2 separate regions of the Homo sapiens genome follow, and region 1 is linked to region 2. The links are contacts of gene promoters, found by promoter capture Hi-C in human tissues and cell types (Jung and others, 2019). All regions are on one chromosome and are shown on one strand. Each heading gives the region's core, a stretch centred on a gene start or on the middle of the fragment in contact. The rest is flanking DNA. Distances are from core to core; before and after follow the strand shown.

Region 1 (3,194 bases), core at 526-3,025, 540 kb after region 2:
CAACCATATCCTCCTCTTTTTGGTGACTAGATTGTAAAATAAGTCAATTAAGAGTTCATAACGGAAGTGCTGAAGCAACCGCAAATCCAGACACAAAAATACAGTGGAACGTATTCGCATCTCAAGCACGTCCAAATGTCTCGGCCAATGTGATCCGATCACTGCCGTTTCCAGAAACACACAGTAATGGCTTTTAATTCATTTCTATAAATGTTCGTTGTGCGTAAAGCCAAACTGCACGCAAAACCGCAAAACACAAAAGATCCCTCGCATGCCGTTTATAGCCAGAAGATAGGCCATCCTCTCTGCGCCCTACCCCAGAAAGCTCTCCTTACGGCAGTAAAAATTTGATGACACCCCATGCTACCTACACATCAAAATGTCATCCCACAAAGTGGAAGGGGAGCAGTGTCAGCATCCGTTGGCCTCCATGAAACGACACTGCCAGTATTCCCACCTCTAGGCAAACACGAACCCAAGTGAAGTCGATGGAAAGTTCCCACCAACCAGGCATATTTGGTTCCCTTCTGCCCCCAAGGCCAAGCAGCTCAACTGATGAGATCTGCTGTTGCACCTGCCACGGCTCTGAACCCGGGATGCTTGGCGACCCCCGGGGCACACAAAAAGGCCCTGCGGCCTAACGCGCCAGTGACCCTTCCCCGAGAGTGCATGGAGGGCCGCTGGAGCATCCCTCTCGCTGTCCACAGCGCCCGCTTCCCTGACAAAGGCCCCGTGTCAATCCATCCGAGACACAACACAGAGAAGTTGCTGGATTGCCCATCGCGGACCCGCAGCTGCCACTACCCTCTCCCGGAAAAAAACCAAACCAAACCAAACAAAAAAAACAGAACTAGGGAAGAAAAGGATGGGAGGGTACACAGCGTGAAAATCAAAATGTTCCCAAAGCTAAGCAACCTGGGTGTGCCCTGGAAGTGGGTCCTGGGGGCCCGTGGGGGAGGGGAGGGAGGGCCCGGGTGGTGGCGGTGGCTCCTCTGGGGCATGAAGGCCGAGCCAGGCGCTAGCCTAATAAAATGCCGGGTGTCGGAACGCTCAAAAGAAAACCACAAATGAAATCCCCTGCGGGCGCCAGGCCCCGAGGAGGGAGGGAGGGAGAGCGGGGCGGGCGGTCCGCAGACCTGCGGCCGCGGCCCCACCTGCCCGCCCCGCGCCCACACACACCTGCCCCGGCAGCCGCCGGGAGGCGAGGCCGCGGCTGAGGCGAGGAGGGGGCCCGACCCGGGGGTGCCGGGCGAGTGGGTCAGTCCGATGGCGGGGGCCGGGGGCCGCCTCGCTCACCTCCAGGTCGGTGTCCGCGGCCTCTGGGGCCCCGAGGATCTCGCTGGGCAGCTCGGCCAGGTCGGTGACCCGGATCAGCCCGTCGTGCAGGAAGATGGTCTCTTCCTTCACCGAGAGCCACTGCGCCGAGTCAGCGGCCGCCGCCGCCGCCGCCGCCGCGGCCGCCGACGAGCCCATGGCCCCGGCTGAAGGCTTGGCGCTGAGGAGCAGACGCCCGGCCGGGGGAAACGGAGCAGGAGCCGCCGCGATCACCAGTCCATGGCAGCGGCCGCCGCGCCCGCCAGCGGCGCCCCACTTGCTGCCTCGCCCGTGCAACTCCGCCCTAGGCGGTCCGAGTCGCCATACCCCCGACCCCGGCCCGGGAGACCCCGGCCCTGCCGCCGCCGCCGCCGCCGCCGCCGCCGCCGCCCTCAGGAGCAGGATCCGCCTCTGCCGCTCGGCAACCAACTGTCAGTGAGACGCCATGTTGGGGGCGGGGCTCCCGGCATGCCTCGCGGAGCGGACAATACAGGCCCCGCCCGCCGCTCCGCCCACCGCTCCGCGGACGAGGCCACCCGGGTGGCCTGGACGTCCGCCTAGCCCTTCGCTGCCGCCTGCCCTCGGCCTGACCTCCGCCGGCCCCTTCTCCCCCTGGCCATTCAGGGTAGCCCTGGCTTTGCAGCGCGCCAGGGAAGAGGACGCCGCTTCCCCCGTCCTGTCCCTACTCAGGTGTGCACCCCTTGCTCGGGCCCGCGCCCCCACCCTGGGCAGAGCATAGAGATCACTCCTTGTTTTCACGTTTAAATGAGATGCAAGCAAAAGGCTGGCGCAGAATAGGCGCTGCACACTTGTTCATAAGCACTTGGTAGAATCACATAGTAGATGATTAATATTGACTGAAAAGTCTAGTACCCAGTAAGCACTCAAAACCTGGTGAAAATAAAGCGTCTGTCCACAATGCTTGGTGCTCAATGCCCGACACTTAATATGTGCTCCATGAGTGGCAATTCTAATTATTGCTATGTTCGTTCCATCAGTGTTCCACACTAATTGACATACACCTTAAAAATATGCTCACTAGGCCGGGTGCGGTGGCTCACACCTGTAATCCCAGCACGGAGGTCAAGGCAGAAGGACTGCTTGAGCCCAGAAGTTTGAGGCCAGCCTGGGCAACATAGGGAGACCCCATCTCTACAAAAAATAAAAATTAGCGGGGCAGGGTGGCAAGCGTCTGTAGTCCTGCTACTCGGGAGGCTGAGGCAAGAGGATCTCTTGAACTCAGGAGGTGGAGGCTGCAGTGAGCTATTATCTTGCCACTGCACTCCAGCCCGGGCGACAGAGGGAGACCCCATCCCTCCCTCCCCACCAAAAATATATATATGCCCACCAGTGCCATTTTATAAAAACAAGAAAGGAAAACTATATGTATAAAGAACAATGCATGAACAAATACACACCAGATGTTTAAGGTGAGTTGCCATGGGAGTGTGGGGCTGGTCTGGAACTACTGAGATGAGATTGTTCTCTATTACTTGTATATTTTTATCACTTAAAAAATAATAAAACAGGCCGGGCACAGTGGCTTACACCTGTAATCCCAGCACTTTGGGAGGCCAAGGTGGGCAGATCACCTGAGGTCAGGAGTTCGAGACCAGCCTGGTCAACATGATGAAACCCTGTCTCTGCTAAAAAAAATACACAAATTAGCCAGGAATGGTTGCACATGCCTGTAGTCCCAGATACTCAGGAGGCTGAGGCAGGAGAATAGCTGGAACCCAGGAGGCGGAGGTTGCAGTGAGCCGAGATCATGCCACTGCACTCCAGCCTGGGCAACAGAGCAAGACTCCATCTCAATAATAATAATAATAATAATAATAACAATAACAATAACAGGAGAACATTAAGGTGCATACCCTTTG
Region 2 (2,933 bases), core at 87-2,586:
ATGCAGCCCCTGCCCACATCTCCAACCTCATCCTTTTTATACTTTTTTTTTTCTTTTTTTGAAATAGAGACGGGGTTTCGCCATGTTGGCCAGGCCGGTCTCGAACTCCTGACTTCAAGTGATCCGCCCGCCTTGGCCTCCCGAAGTGCTGGGATTACAGGCGTGACCCACCGCGCCCAGCCTCCAACCTCACCCTTTATCAGTCTCCTCCTACTCGATCTACTCCAGCTACAATGACCTTCTTGCTGATTCTTGAACATATTTAGCTTATTTCCACCTTAAAATTTCTACCCATCTGCCCAGAAATCTTTCCTTGGATTTCCAATAGCCAGCCCTTTCTCATTCCTCAGGGGTCTCAGCTTAAATGTTACCTCCTGAGATTCCTTCCTTAATCATCTAATACGAAGAAGTCCCCACATCCAGTTATTCTCTTACCTCAGCATCCTGTTTATGTTCTTCTTAGCATCAGACTCGGGCTTTTTCCTGTTTATTACCTACTTCGTTTTCCTGAAAGATCCATGTGCCGGTACCATGTGTTGTTCCTACTGTTTCTCCAATGTCTAGTAGATTTGGCACATACTGATGTGCAATTAATACGTGAATGAAGAACCATTGACAGACGATTAGTCAAAAGCTCTTGCAAAGCCCTTTGATAGGTTATCGGTGGAGAGTAGGGAGCACAAACCTGGGGTCCCATTCTAGCTTGACCACTTCTCGGCTGTGCACAAACTAGTCTAGCTCTCCTGAGCCTCAGTTACCTATTTTGCAAATTAGGGATGGGAACATCCATACCTCACGACGCCAAACGGCTACCTTGTAAAGACGAAAGGAGGAAATGCAGGAAATAACTCCACGTAAGGTTAATGCTCCGTAAACAGAGCTGCTACTGCTATTATATATTCTATACAATCCTGCGCCCTTAACGGCAGGACCCTTTCAGTGCTTCAGTCCTGTCTTCTCTCTCCTGGGTTGACCTCCACAGATCCTCTCAGAAGAGCGTTTTCCAGGCGTGAATCTCCGCAGAGTGGAGATAAAGGCTGAGGCCCCAACGCACGCGCACTCACGCGAGTCCGGGCCTATGACGTCATTAGCGCAGCGCCATCGCCGCGGAAGGCCCAGGGGCCTGTCCTGTATGCGGCGTGTCTTAGGGAGGCCCAGGCGGACGCCTGCAAGTCGGGTGCGCGGTTCGGGGGCGGCTCGGAAACCCCAGCGGAAGGCAGCAAGGGGCGCGTGGGGCCGTGGAGTCACGAAGCTGGGCGGCAGGAGGGGCGGCCTGGAGCTCCCGCGGGGCACAGCGCGTGCGTGAGGGCGGCCGGCGGGGCTGCCCGGCGCGGGTGTCCCGGCGATGTGTGGCGCTGAGGCGGCGGCGGGAGCAGCGGCGCCGAGCTCTGCTTCGGCTTCGGCTTCGGCTTCGCGGCGGTGCAGGCGGCGGAGGCGGAGGCGCAGGCTCTTCTTTAGGACCTGGCGAGCCCAGGTCTAAGCGGCGGCCCCGCGAGGCCCTTGCACGGCGCCCCGGGTCGAGGCCCTCCCCGCCTCGCCCTACCCCAGGAGCCTGCCTCCCCAGCTGGGGATGAGGCTAGGAGGCGGCCGCGTGGGGCCCAGCACAAAGACCTGTCCCCAGGGGCCGCCGCCTCCGCCGCTGCTGCTGCCGCCAGCCTAGAGCCGCCCGCCGAAGCAGAGCCGGCGCCGGGGTCCTCATCCCCACCGGTCCCGAGGGGCGGCTGCTGCCCGTCGCCACGAGGCCCAGGGGCCCGAGTGCCGAGCCCTTTGCTCCCTCGGCCGCGCGGGGACAGGGCTGCTGAGCAGCCTCCGCCTCTCCCGGCTGTGGGGGCCCCACTGAGTATGTCGGAGGAGAGCGACATGGACAAAGCCATCAAGGTAAGGGGGAGGTGCCCCCTCTTCCCCCGCGTTGTCCTGTGGCGTTCTTCTCGGCTCTAGCCTCAAAAAGCAGGGAGATTTTGCAGTGAGAGGTTCCATCGACTACCGGGTTTCGGCCTCCCCCGGATTCCGTGGATCGCGCTTTACAGCCCTGGGGCCAAGGGTTATGGGTGTGGGTGTAGGTGTGTGTCCGACTCCCGCCAGCTTCCCTGGTGAGTGTGATTTGTGCTCAGCTGGAACAGAGGTGAGTGGCCTGGAGACACTATTAAGTGTCAATGAATGGGACGAAGAGAGCCCTACTACTACTACTACACGTTTCGATCACTCCCCAAGGCCGCCAGCATTTGCTTCCGGATGGTCTACAGAACTTGGAGAGTTGGAATTTATCCATCCCTCCCGATTTGTTTGAAATCAGCCTTCTGGAAATCTGCAGTTGGAAAAAGGTGGTTCGCCGTACAAAACCTGTCCTTTGGGGAATAGGTTGTCCTCACTTTTCCGTGTATTCTCCCCTTTTTCTTTTTCCTCTTCTTTCTCCTAGGAAGCATTGAGTTTACTTAGGAAAAGTTAACAGTTCCTGTGACTTAACTGCACTTAAACCAAAAGAAAAGCAAATGTGTGTTCGAAAATTACACAAATAAAATAAGTTTTCTAAAACCTGTTTTTAACTTTTTTTTTTTTTAAAGGCACATTTTGCCCACTCAGGGCCAGTTATCTGTCTTGACAGCTGTAGCTAAGAAATTAGTCTTATGAAAATTAAACATTGACGCTTAAAGTTTGATGTATTATTTACTTATTTGTAGTGTTAAGTCAGCCCAGTGCATTGAATAATTTCATTTTATCTTGAAGGACAGGCATCTATTGGCAGCTTGGGGTTATTTTCCCCTTCAAGACAGTTACTAGTAATGATTAAGAATTTACATTTCTACCAATTCTTTAGGTGGTGTATATAGTTTCTCAAAATCATCAAGTCATTCCAAAGAAACTTAACCCTTTAAAGGAGGCATCAACATATAACATATACATTAAGGAAGACCAGGTTTTTTGTCTGTTTGTTT

Evidence for each region. The method cuts DNA at HindIII sites, captures the fragments that hold promoters and counts their contacts. A contact is called where the count stands out against the background at its distance.
Region 1: a contact is called between the fragment with the promoter of HECTD4 here and the fragment with the promoter of MAPKAPK5 in region 2, in 2 of the 25 tissues and cell types used here (lymphoblastoid cells and stomach).

Annotation. Positions count from the first base shown.
Region 1 is chr12:112,380,656-112,383,849 of GRCh38, forward strand. HECTD4 (HECT domain E3 ubiquitin protein ligase 4) reads right to left here and starts at 1,776. Exons shown (of 76, transcript NM_001388303.1): 1 at 1,297-1,776. The coding sequence starts at 1,473. RefSeq lists enhancers at 1-234, 1,420-1,919 and silencers at 927-1,416, 1,427-1,696, 1,807-2,096. The HindIII fragment of the contact is 28,101 bases long and covers 1-3,194 here.
Region 2 is chr12:111,840,892-111,843,824 of GRCh38, forward strand. It overlaps MAPKAPK5 (MAPK activated protein kinase 5), which reads left to right and starts at 1,337. Exons shown (of 14, transcript NM_003668.4): 1 at 1,337-1,878. The coding sequence starts at 1,843. It overlaps MAPKAPK5-AS1 (MAPKAPK5 antisense RNA 1), which reads right to left and starts at 2,114. Exons shown (of 2, transcript NR_015404.2): 1 at 436-2,114. RefSeq lists enhancers at 913-1,192, 1,923-2,022 and silencers at 1,223-1,402, 1,483-1,832. The HindIII fragment of the contact is 25,902 bases long and covers 1-2,933 here.